Regions from separate parts of the Homo sapiens genome. Here regions 2, 3 and 4 are each linked to region 1. Evidence: promoter capture Hi-C in 16 types of primary human blood cells and fetal thymus (Javierre and others, 2016). All regions are on one chromosome and are shown on one strand. The core of a region is centred on a gene start or on the middle of the fragment in contact, and the rest is flanking DNA. Distances in the headings are between cores, read along the strand shown.

Region 1 (2,738 bases), core at 31-2,530:
GGCGGGTGGATCACGAGGTCAGGAGATCGAGACCATCCTGGCCAACAAAGTGAAACCCCGTCTCTACTAAAAATACAAAAAATTAGCCGGGCATCGTGGCGGGCACCTGTGGTCCCAGCTACTCGGGAGGCTGAGGCAGGAGAATGGCGTGAACCCGGGAGGCGGAGCTTGCAGTGAGCCGAGATCCCGCCACTGCACTCCAGCCTGGGCTACAGAGCGAGACTCCGTCTCAAAAAACTAAAACAAAAATAAAAACAAAAAACACCATCTCAACTCCCTGACAATCTAAAGTTGGAACAGAAGCTTCTGATGTAGCCAGCCACCCAAATTCCCTTTTCACTTCCCTTTCACTCTGAAAAGCGCTTTTACTTTTAGTAGTATTAAAACTTCAAGAGCATTAGCCTCCCTAATAGTCCCTTTTATTCCTCCTATTAGATTATTTCTGTTCTTAAGAGGCAGCAGGAGGAGCCCTGTAACCAGCACGTAACCTTAGGCAAGGCCATGAACACGCCTGCGCCTGTTTCCTAACTTAAAGAGAAGCATTAGCCGGTCTCTAAGGTCCTGGAACTCCCGTCTGCTGTCGCTGGGCGTTCATTTGAAAGACAAAAGCGGTTCCGAAAGCACGCCCGGCGGTCCCTGCTCTGGGAGTGCTGACCTGCCTGTGTGCAGCACAAAACCGCTCCCTTCCGGCCCTCACAGCTAACCTGCAGTCCCCATCCCTCCAGCTTCCTTTCTGCCATAAATCACTAACTGTGTGGGAGATGAAATCCGCCTGGTGAAGGCTGGGACGGACAAAACACAGTATTCCAAAATCTAGGGCCCAAATCGGAGCCCTCGGAGACGCGGCCCCTAAAGCCAATGGGGTCCGGGGCGGCCCGGAAACTTCCGGGAGAACCGGACCCTGAGATTCTGGAAGGGCCAAATAGTGACCCTCTTCCCTAAAAATCACGGAAGAGACATGAAAACCACGGGATCTCCCTGGCAAACCTCAGGAGACAGCAGAGAACTGCGGAGCCGAGAAGGCGGGGCAAGAACTTCCGGGGTGGGGCTACGGCCGGGGCGCAGGGGTTGGCGGGCAGGGCCCTCGCCTCCAGCGACGCATCCACCCACCCCTGGGTCCGGCTCTACTGGGTTATCCTCGTTCCGCCGAGCAGGAGAGGCCGGGGGCGCCCGGGAGCTTGCAGGCGGGCGTGGGTGCTTGCGTTCTCTACTCGGGATCCGCGAGCAGGGCCAGCGAGAGGCCAAGTGTTGTGCCCTTCGCGACCCTCGCGTCTCTTAGTAACGCGATGAAGCTGCAGGAGCTCCCGGCTCCTTCAGGCCCCGCCCAGCTAGCTCAGGCCCCGCCCCCGGGAGTGGGCTTTTATGCGCATGCGCGAGGGCTGGGGTGGGCGCCGGCCCATCTTACTAAGCCAATGTAGGTCCCAGGTAGGAGCGCTGCCAGGGCTCACCCCTGAGCAGAGATGGAGGGCGAAAAAGGGTTACTTGCCGCTACTTGAATCCCAGACAAAATTCCCTGTGAAAGCGGATCACAGCACGGAGACTGTGTTTGTAGTTCCTGATAGTAGATATCTCCTATCTATTCATTTGCGAGGAATGAACCATTCCAGAGAGTCGCCATAGTGCCTGACAATCAGTAAACCTACAATAGATGATATCTATAGCTTTAATTATTTTTTCTAGCATTATCTATTACTATATTACAGTACTATCTAAGCGAAAAGTGATCAGATTCAAGATATACGGTTTTTTGTTTTTTTGTTTTTGTTTTTTTTTAGACGGAGTCTCGCTCCGTCGCCCAGGCTGGAGTGCAGTGGTGCTATCTCGGCTCACTGCAAGCTCCGCCTCCCGGGTTCACGCCATTCTCCTGCCTCAGCCTCCCGAGTAGCTGGGACTACAGGCACCCACCACCACGCCTGGCTAATTTTTTGTATTTTTAGTAGAGACGGGGTTTCACCGTGTTAGCCAGGATGATCTCGATCTCCTGACCTCGTCATCCACCCGCCTCGGCCTCCCAAAGAGCTGGGATTACAGGCGTGAGCCACCGCGCCCGGCCAATTTACATGTTTTGAATGTAGAGCCATCAGGACTTGTCAAATTGTTGAATGAAAGAAAGGAGCAATTGTGTGCTGGAGCCAGCTCATTAGAGCTCTGGAGACTCAGTAATTAAATTTTTAGGAATTTTTCTGAGCTCGTTGTTAAATACAAGCCATGAGCTGGAGTCAATGAAGATGACAAGGGCCTCGGGCACCTGCCCCAAACAAAACAAAAACACAAGACATATCACAAATTAAATTATATAAACTTCTAAATAAACGAGTCATACTAAAACAAAGGCAATACTTAGTAAAACTAAAAACAAAAAACTATTTACTTACAACTCCCAAATTTCTCTCTTCAGCCCGGTCTTTCTCTGAACTTTAGATTTGTATATCAATGTATATTCAACATCCACTTGATTGTACAAAACAACCTCCCCAAACACCTCCCTGCCAAAACAAAAACAAAAACCCTGCTCCTTCTTCATGTCTTTTAGTAGATGTGGCCTAGAGCCCTCTCTTTCCATATCCATCAATGCAACCTGCTGACTTTATAGCTTCTACTCAAGCCATCATAATTTTTCTTTTTTCTGGTAATTACAACCGTTCCCAACAGCTCTCTATGCCCCCTCTGTAGTCTGTTGTCAACACAACAGTCAATGCAATCTGTTTAAAACCTAAGTCAAGGCCGGGCGCGGTGGC
Region 2 (2,978 bases), core at 79-2,578, 1.2 Mb after region 1:
ATTCTCGGGTCGGGATCATCTGAGCTAGTTTGGGTGGGCTGTTGCTTGTGGAGTCAGGAAACCTCTTAGCAAGGTCTGCGCTCCATCTAGAGTGTTCCTTTAGACTCAAATAGATGCCCTAAGATTCAGTCCTGCTAAGTGTGCCCCCAAAACCCGTTTAAAATGTAGGTCTGATTATGATTCAGCTGTGGTGAGGCCAGCAGATGAGGAGAGGACAGACATTGAAAAGATTGTCACTCAGTTCCTGGGAGAAGGGGCCACACCATGCCACGCAGGGCCATGTGGGAGGCATTGGGGAGCCGGGAAACAATTGGGCAAGAGCATTTTTTGTGGTTTCTTTGGGGAGGAACGGGCAAGGCTGGGAGAGCAGGCTTGGGATTGGCTAGTTTAAATAATTTCAGCGGGCTCTGCAGCATGGGGGCTGCCCCCTAGTTGTCTGGTACGTGTCCCTAGGGTGGTGAGGGCAGGGAAATAGTGGCCCTGGGTGTGAGAGCCGAGAGGTGGTGGGAGGGGTGGACCCTGGATCCATGGTGACATGTGGAAGTCTTGGGGTCTGGAAATTGGCTAACCCTGGCACCAGCAGTCCCTCCAGGCCCAGCAAGGTCACAGACATCCAAGCATCATAAAGCCATGGTCAATACACAGCCAGACTCGGAACTGTCCATGCAGACCCTCTGAATCCGAGACATAGCCTTCATTTATTTCCCTGGTTACCCAGAGACCTGGAATGTTCTTTGTGAACCCTGGAAGCACTCCCTGCTCCATGCTGGTAGTTAAGGAAATGCAACATTGCCACCTACTGCTGAGGCTCTCCTGAAAATCAGAAAAAGAAGCCACTTTTTTTTTTTTTCTTTTTTTTTGAGACAGATCTGCCTGCCTCGGCCTCCCAAAGTGCTGGGATTACAGGCATGCCCGGCCAAAAACTATGCCCGGCCAAAAACTATGCCCAGCCAAAAACTGGATTAAAAAAAAAAAAGAAGAAGAGGCTGGCCTGTAACCTGAGTACTTTGGGAGGTCAGGGTAGGATAATTACTTGAGCTCAGGAGTTCAAGACCAGCCTGGGCAACATAGTGAGACCCCATCTCGACAGAAAATAAAAAATTAGTCAGCATGGTGGCTTATATCTGTAGTCCCAGCTATCTGGGAGGCTTAGACAGACAGGTCACTTGATCCCAGGAGGTCGAGGCTGCAGTGAACTGTGGTTGCACACTGCACTCCAGCCTGAGTGACAGAGCAAGACCCCATCTCAAAAAGAAAAAAAAGAAAAAAAAATTTTGACTTTGAATCCAAACCCTCAGCCCTCCCCATCTTCCCAGGAGGCTCTTGTCCCTGGTGCCACCGGTGTGCACCATGCCTCTCTGGGCGTGCGGGTGGAGAGGTCTGAGCTCTGTTTCTCTGCAGGCGTTTTTGACTCAGCCGTTCCCTGGCAGGGAGGGAAAGCTCAGGATGAGCTCCATACCCTCCCCTAACAGAACAATGATATGACAGGCCCGGAGCTCACGGGGTTTTCCAGGCTGTCGTCTTGGTGATAAAAGTTAACAGGAAACTGCTTTCCACTTCCGTCGAGAGGAGGTGATTTTTTTTCTCTTCATCTCAGAATATGCGTGTTATTTCCTGTACCTTCTCTGCCCCTTTTATGGCTAGACAACAGAGAGCTTGGTGGAAATGAAGGCAGTCACAGAGATGTAGAATTTGCCACCTCAATTCAGTTTTCCATCATATGAGAGTGGAAACGAAAAGGGAAGCGTTATATTTTCTTAATATACTATTCAGGAGAAAATTGGGGTGGAAGAGGCAGGATGTCTTTACTCTTTACTTTTTAAGAACTAAAGCAAATGAGATTCTTTTAAGAAACATATGGCATTACTTTGAAAATTAAGTTATTTCAGACCTTATATGAATTTAGACTCAAAATCATCATTAGAGCACAAAGGCCACCGTCAACTTCAGGAGGCTTCTGTTAATATTCTGGTGTTAGGATTGCTTTCTCTCTTCCTTGCCTCCCCTTTCTCTCCCTTTCCTCGCTTTTCCTTCTTTTCCTTCCTTTAGTTTCTTTTATTATTCTGCCTACCCTTTGCCAGAGGCCCTTTGCAAAGGATGTAGATTTATTTATTTATTTTTGAGACGGAGTTTCGCTTTTGTTGCCCAGGCTGGAGTGCAATGGCATGATCTCAGCTGACTGCAACCTCCGCCTCCCAGGTTCAAGCGATTCTCCTGCCTCAGCCTCCCAAGTAGCTGGGATTACGGGTGTCCGCCACCACGCCTGGCTAATTTTTTGTATTTTTAGTAGAGACAGGCTTTCACCATGTTGGCCAGGCTGGTCTCGAACTCCTGACCTCAGTTGATCCACACATCTTGGCCTCCCAAAGTGCTGGGATTACAGGCATGAGCTACGATATAGATTTATTTTTTGAAAATCAAATCATTAAAAAGTCAGGAAACAACAGGTGCCGGAGAGGATGTGGAGAAATAGGAACACTTTTACACTGTTGGTGGGACTGTAAACTAGTTCAACCATTGTGGAAGACAGTGTGGCGATTCCTCAAGGATCTAGAATTAGAAATACCATTTGACCCAGCCATCCCATTACTGGGTATATACCTGAAGGATTATAAATCATGCTGCTATAAAGACACATGCACACGTATGTTTATTGTGGCACTATTCACAACAGCAAAGACTTGGAACCAACCCAAATGTCCATCAGTGGTAGACTGGATTAAGAAAATGTGGCACATATACACCATGGAATACTATGCGGCCACAAAAAAGGATGAGTTCATGTGCTTTGTAGGGACATGGATGAAGCTGGAAACCATCATTCTGAGCAAACTGTCACAAGGACAGAAAACCAAACACCACATGTTCTTACTCATAGGTGGCAATTGAACACTGAGAACACTTGGACACAGGGTGGGGAACATCACATACTGGGGCCTGTCGTGGGGTGGGGGGTAGGGGGAGGGATAGCATTAGGA
Region 3 (2,943 bases), core at 110-2,609, 1.9 Mb before region 1:
GAACATCACCTATACTGGGAGAAACCGATGCCATCTGTACCTTGATATCATGCACTGGAAAAGACACATCGCTTTAGTGGTGTTTCTCCAAAAATTCATAACCTGAAAGGGAACATCAAACTTACTTTGAAGGATATTCCACACAATACCTGGTCTGTATTCTTAAATAATGTCTAGTTCAATAAACATAAAAGCCAAGGACGGTTCCAGATCAAAGAAGACTAATGGAGGAATAACTCTTTCATCTGGAATGTTTTTTAAGCAAGAAATACCTGCTTTCGAATTTAAGAGTGCAGATCCTTTTTTTATCCAATTGGTTCGGAGATATAATTACATTATTTTACCACATCTCCTTAAGGCTTTGATCCCTGCTACAATCTACAATATATAAATGCATATGTGTGGCATCCGTCTTATCATCAATTTAGGTGACCAGTAGAAGAAAAGTGCCTGGTGCCAATTTTTATTCCATAGTATAAAATAGTCTCTCAGGACAGGGTTTTTGGTGAGAGAAGCACAGGATGTTGCTGGGTGACTGAGACTGGGTCAGGAAATAGGGAGGCAGAGGGCAACAGTTTCTCTAGAATTTAAAATTTGGTTGCTTTTGGAAGAGAAAGCAAGAGATTCCTGGAAGCCAGAACGTCATGTTTCACAAATGTAAAAGTCCTAGTTGGGAAAGACACATCGCTTTAGTGGTGTTTTCAAATGACTTTTAAAATAGTAGGGTTTTACTTGTAGGTTCTAGCTACAAGTAAAAAGGCTAAAAGCCAGCCTTAGAAACCTGTCAAAAAAGATTTCCAGCAGGGCGCTGGGGAAACGCAGACCGCGCCGGAATCCCCGCCTGGAGAAGCTCTTAATAGGGCGGGAAACTGCGTGCCCCACAAGGTCCCTCAGAGGCACATTGTGGAGACGGGCTCAGGGTAGCAACTTCTGGCGAGTGGAGCGGCTATTACACAAGCGAAACATTCGGAAGCAATTTACTTCCAGCTTTCGCAACACCCACCCTGAGCCACCACCCTCCCTTACACAGTCACGCCACAAACTTCCCCACTTCCGCCCACAGCCCTCTGGGCTTCGACCCATCAACTGAGCTTGCGCCAAGTCTACTGCGCACGCGCCAACTTCGGCCCAATCAGCGTCCCAAACCGTGGGGTGGACGCCACCGGGATAAACTATCCTCAGCGTGGGGCGGGGTCTCGAAGCCGAATAACGAACGTGATTAGCCAGCCTCTTCCACAGACTTTTAAGGGCGGAGCCTGGCCCTGGAGACACGTCTGGAGAGCTGTTCTCCTAATATGGGTAGGGTCGGGCGTGGAGCTGGCAGCGGCGCTGTGTGCGCCTGCGCGGGGCGCCGAGACAGGGCGTGTTCGCTGTTCAGTGCCGGTGTTGCAGGGAGTGAGGGCAGCTGGAGTGCGTTCTGCCGAAGCTTGTGGTTGCACGCCCATCGTCTTAGGGGCTACCTTCCGTGGTGAGTGTGTGCGGTGTTGCACTTGGGGTTGCTTCTCGCTGCGTGGCCGCAGCGGGGCTGAACCCTTCCCACTCCATCCCCTCCCCGCACCCGGACCAGCCCCTGGGACGCCCTCGGACGCCCACCCGCTCCAACCCTGGGGAAGCCTCAGAGTGGCAGCGAAGGCCTCTTGCCTTTCCGCCTCTGCGCTTGCTGTCATCGCCCACGTGCTTTGTTGTTGTTCGGTGCAGACCATGTCCAAGTCTCTGAAGAAGTTGGTGGAGGAGAGCCGGGAGAAGAACCAGCCCGAGGTGGACATGAGTGACCGGGGCATCTCCAACATGCTGGATGTCAACGGCCTCTGTGAGTTCTCGGGCAGGACTCTCCCGTGGATGAGCTGGAAGGCTTTCTAAGTTTGCCAATTCACTGCTGGTCCTGCTGTGAGCGATTGTACTGGTTTAGACCCCAGCCCCTGCTTGTAAACCTCACTTGTCAGGGGCTTCGCGCAGAGGGTTTGCAGTAGGATTTGTTCTGTTCCACCTGGAAAACGATCCTGAGAGTCCACGATGAGAATCACACAGACAGCTGTGCCTCATCGGTTGTCTCTGCTGTATGGCATTGAGGTGGATTTTCCACAGTTTGCTTAATAGTCACTTTAATTATAAATTGAAAATTAATTTTGAGTCCTTCTTCCTGTCTCCTAATACAGTCTTTGTCCATGAACAAATGACACAGAAAAGTTCCATGGTTAATAAGCATTCTTGTGCCTGGAGCGTTTTAAGCATTTCTTGAATCTTTACATTCTTCTGAGTATTTATTCTCCGAACTTGGTTCAGGCTTTTGTCACCTCCTCATGCTGTGGTGAAATCCTCCTAACTTGCCCTCTTGCCTTCAGTTTCACTGCCCAGTTTAATCACTGGGTCACTTTCAGTGTCATTTTCCTGTAACCCCTGTCTATGGTGTTACCCTCTCCCTTAAAACCAGGGATTGCAGATTCACATGCCTCCAAGTGAGGGCGGTCAGGGGCGGTTATGAACTAGGTGATAGGTGTCCCACTTGAAGGGGCCAGCTGCTGCACCTGCTACTCAGACACATGTCACCATAGGAATGTTGGCCCAATGTGCCAGATTATTTTCTTAAAGGAACCAAGATTCTATATTTTTATGTGAAATTTGCTAATTTTTAGATGTTGGCTACTAATTCTAATATTTGAAAAACCTGTGATAAGTGAGCTAAAGCAGTTCTTCAGGCTGACGTGGCTTTGGTTTAAACCCTCTCCGCACTTCTCCAGGTTGTCCATTATCGACGGTAATGCTCCAGGTTTCTTGGCGTGATGTACAAGGCCTTTCTGAATCTGAACACAACCTTACCCTTCCATGCAGCTGGCATTCCAGCCATTCTGAACCTGTTGCCCTTCCTGGACCAGAGCCTACTCGTTCAGATCTTGGTGCCTTTACAAATTCTGTTTTCCCTCTTTCTCAGTCGTTTGCACCTGA
Region 4 (2,801 bases), core at 194-2,693, 1.4 Mb after region 1:
TTGCTAGCTGCATAATCCTATAGTCATGTAACTTCTCTTAGCTTCCAGTTTCCTCATCTGTAAATGGGAACAATGGCAACTTGTTGTACAAGTTAGAAAACACATATTGCATGATGCCTAACATTACTGCTAATATAAACTATGAATGTCAGTATTTTTTTTTTTTTTTTTTGAGATGGAGTCTCGCTCTGTCGCCCAGGCTGCAGTGCAGTGGCACAATATCAGCTCACTGCAAGCCCCGCCTCCCGGGTTCACGCCATTCTCCTGCCTCAGCCTCCTGAGTAGCTGGGACTACAGGCACCTGCCACCATGCCCAGCTAATATATATATATATATATATTTTTTTTTTTTGTATTTTCAGTAGAGATGGGGTTTCACCGTGTTAGCCAGGATGGTCTCAATCTCGTGATCTGCCCACCCCAGGCTCCCAAAGTGCTGGGATTACAGGCGTGAGCCACCGCGCCCGGCCGAATGTCAGTATTTTAATTCCCATTTCATGTACGCCCTTTGTTGGTCTGAACTGCTCTGTGATTGAAAAAATCAATCTTATCTTCTGGCTGGAATTATGTGATAATTCAATCAACTACCAAATTAAAAAATGAAAGACACCCAGGAAAAGTTTATATATTATAAATTATAAATGACCCTGAAGAATCTAAAGTTTTTTTTTTAATGATCATTTTTGTAGATTGGTGCATTTCAATGACGAAGAACATGATTATGCAAATATTCATGTTGTGAACCTTGAGGGTGGGCTGAATATTTTGTGATTCACTTTTCCCTTTAAAGCACTTAGATTTCAACACCCTGGCCCTTCCTAACATCCACTATGCACTCCAACACCTAAATTTAAAATACTCCCAACCACTCATCAAAAGGTCCCTGCAGTAGACATAAAAACATTTACAAATATGAACAAGCTTTTCCCCATACCTACCAAACAGCATTCTATTACCTCCACTTTTCTAATTGTTTTTAAAGTTTCAATGATCATGAAATTTGCCATTTACCAAGCTAAGAACTCTAACTTACTTACACTACATCACATACATCAATCGTACACAACATCCAAATATCTAAGTCAGATATTCTGTGATGCACGGATTTCCATGGGTCCTGTAGACCCTCTGAGAGGACTCATGAGGTCAAAAGTGTTTTCTACAGTAAGGCATTATCTGCCTGCTCACTCTGATGACATCTGCACTGTAGGTGAAAAGCAATGGTAAATTTGCTAAAGCCTTAGCAAGAACCAAGGCAGTGACTCTAAACTGCCACTGCAGCCAGAGGGAGCCAGTTTCTCTAAACAAATTTACTCCTTATGATAAAGGAGTAAAATTACTATTTTTATTAAGTCTTGATCTTTGGCCATATCTTTTTAATATTATGTGACAAAACAGGAAAGATGCATACAACAATTCTCATTTATACTAAAGTTTGCTGGTTGTGTGGAGGAAAGTAATTGAGTTGCAAGCTAAACTGGCTTTTTCACGGAATACCATTTTTACACTTAAGAACACCCGGCAAACCATGGTTCTTCAGACTTGGGTATTTGGCAGACAACTTCCCCAAACTGAACAAAGTGAGCAGATCACTTCAAGAAAATAACTGATAATATTTGTTGCCTATGATAAAATTCCAGCTTCCAAGTGGAAATTAAGTGTGGTGAACTTAGATCTGTCATCAGGAGCCTGACAGTTTCCTAATGCTTACAGATGTTTCTCAGATCAGTGGATATTAAATGAAGTGATCTTTTCATATTTTGTAATGAAATGTGTCAACAGGTGGGAGACCTGCATAATTCAGTAACCCAATGTTTTCCAAATGATCGATCAGTGAGTATTTTTAACGTTTCTCAGTTTTAACTTCTAATATGGTAAATACGGATAGAAATAACACATAAACAAAAGTCCTTCAAGATCTTCAGTAACTTTTAAGAGTGTGAAGGGGTCCTGAGACCAAAAGCTTTGAGAACCAGCGGTCTAAGTTACTGCTACACAATAAAGTAAGGGAGATCATCTTCAGGAAGTTCCTAAATCATGTAATTCTTTCTCCCCCTTTTTAGTACCTTTCCAAAAGAGTCTTAGCATTCCCATCAGTGAAGAGCAGGCCTACAGACTTTTCATGTGTTGAAGAAGAGAGAAGGAGGAGGAATAGAATTTAAAAAATTGGGATTTACTATTAGAAAGGAATTTTATTACTTTTTTTTTTTTTTTTTTAGAGACAGGGACTCGGTCTCTCACCCAGGCTGGAGTGCAGTGGCACGATGATAGCTCACTGCAGCCTGAACTCCTGGGCTCAAGCGATCCTCCCGCCTTGGTCTCCCAAGCAGCCGGGACTAGACGCGCGCACCACCACACCTGGCTAGAAGGAATTTTTTTTTTTTTTTGAGACGGTGTCTCACTCTGTCGCCCAGGCAGGAGTGCAGTGGTGCGATGTCGGCTCACGGCAACCTCCGCCTCCCGGGTTCAAGTGATTCTCTGGCCTCAGCCTCCTGAGTAGCTGGGATTACAGGCGCGCACCACCACGCCCAGCTAATTTTGGTGTTTTTAGTAGAGACGGGGTTTCACCATGTTTGCCAGGCTGGTCTCGAACTCCTGACCTCAGGTGATCTGCCCACCAAAGTGTGGGGATTACAGGTGTGAGCCACCGCGCCCGGCGGCCCTTCCTCCATGTTTCAGTTGGGCACAAACCCTTCGTAAGGCGACAGAAGGGAACTCTCAGGAGCACTGGGGCACGTCCGCAGAATGCCAACAGGTAGGAGCGGGGATAGGGGGCAGTTAGGTAAACTGGAGGGAAACAGG

What was found. The method cuts DNA at HindIII sites, captures the fragments that hold promoters and counts their contacts. A CHiCAGO score of 5 or more calls a contact.
Region 2: a contact is called between a fragment that was not itself captured here and the fragment with the promoter of MEIG1 in region 1, in 5 of 17 cell types (naive CD8 T cells, total CD8 T cells, naive CD4 T cells and 2 more). The highest score is 10.0, in naive CD8 T cells.
Region 3: the fragment with the promoter of RSU1 here is called in contact with the fragment with the promoter of MEIG1 in region 1 in 2 of 17 cell types (activated CD4 T cells and fetal thymus); the score reaches 7.7 in activated CD4 T cells.
Region 4: a fragment that was not itself captured here is called in contact with the fragment with the promoter of MEIG1 in region 1 in 1 of 17 cell types (naive CD4 T cells); the score reaches 5.6 in naive CD4 T cells.

The regions. Positions count from the first base shown.
Region 1 is chr10:14,957,930-14,960,667 of GRCh38, reverse strand. It overlaps MEIG1 (meiosis/spermiogenesis associated 1), which reads right to left and starts at 1,280. Exons shown (of 3, transcript NM_001080836.3): 1 at 1,111-1,280. RefSeq lists a silencer at 1,008-1,057. The HindIII fragment of the contact is 3,683 bases long and covers 306-2,738 here.
Region 2 is chr10:13,785,750-13,788,727 of GRCh38, reverse strand. All of the region lies in intron 5 of FRMD4A (FERM domain containing 4A), which reads left to right. Among named protein-coding and RNA genes, the nearest start is that of PRPF18, 200 kb to the right of the region's middle. RefSeq lists enhancers at 1-419, 1,235-1,284. The HindIII fragment of the contact is 4,505 bases long and covers 1-2,978 here.
Region 3 is chr10:16,815,840-16,818,782 of GRCh38, reverse strand. It overlaps RSU1 (Ras suppressor protein 1), which reads left to right and starts at 1,359. Exons shown (of 9, transcript NM_012425.4): 1 at 1,359-1,468; 2 at 1,699-1,810. The coding sequence starts at 1,702. It overlaps LOC105376435 (a long non-coding RNA gene), which reads right to left and starts at 1,084. Exons shown (of 3, transcript XR_930708.3): 1 at 1,027-1,084; 2 at 41-102. RefSeq lists enhancers at 741-790, 821-910, 941-1,050, 1,721-1,880. The HindIII fragment of the contact is 3,392 bases long and covers 1-1,428 here.
Region 4 is chr10:13,587,992-13,590,792 of GRCh38, reverse strand. All of the region lies in intron 1 of PRPF18 (pre-mRNA processing factor 18), which reads right to left. Among named protein-coding and RNA genes, the nearest start is that of PRPF18, 2.4 kb to the right of the region's middle. RefSeq lists an enhancer at 2,763-2,801. The HindIII fragment of the contact is 1,042 bases long and covers 923-1,964 here.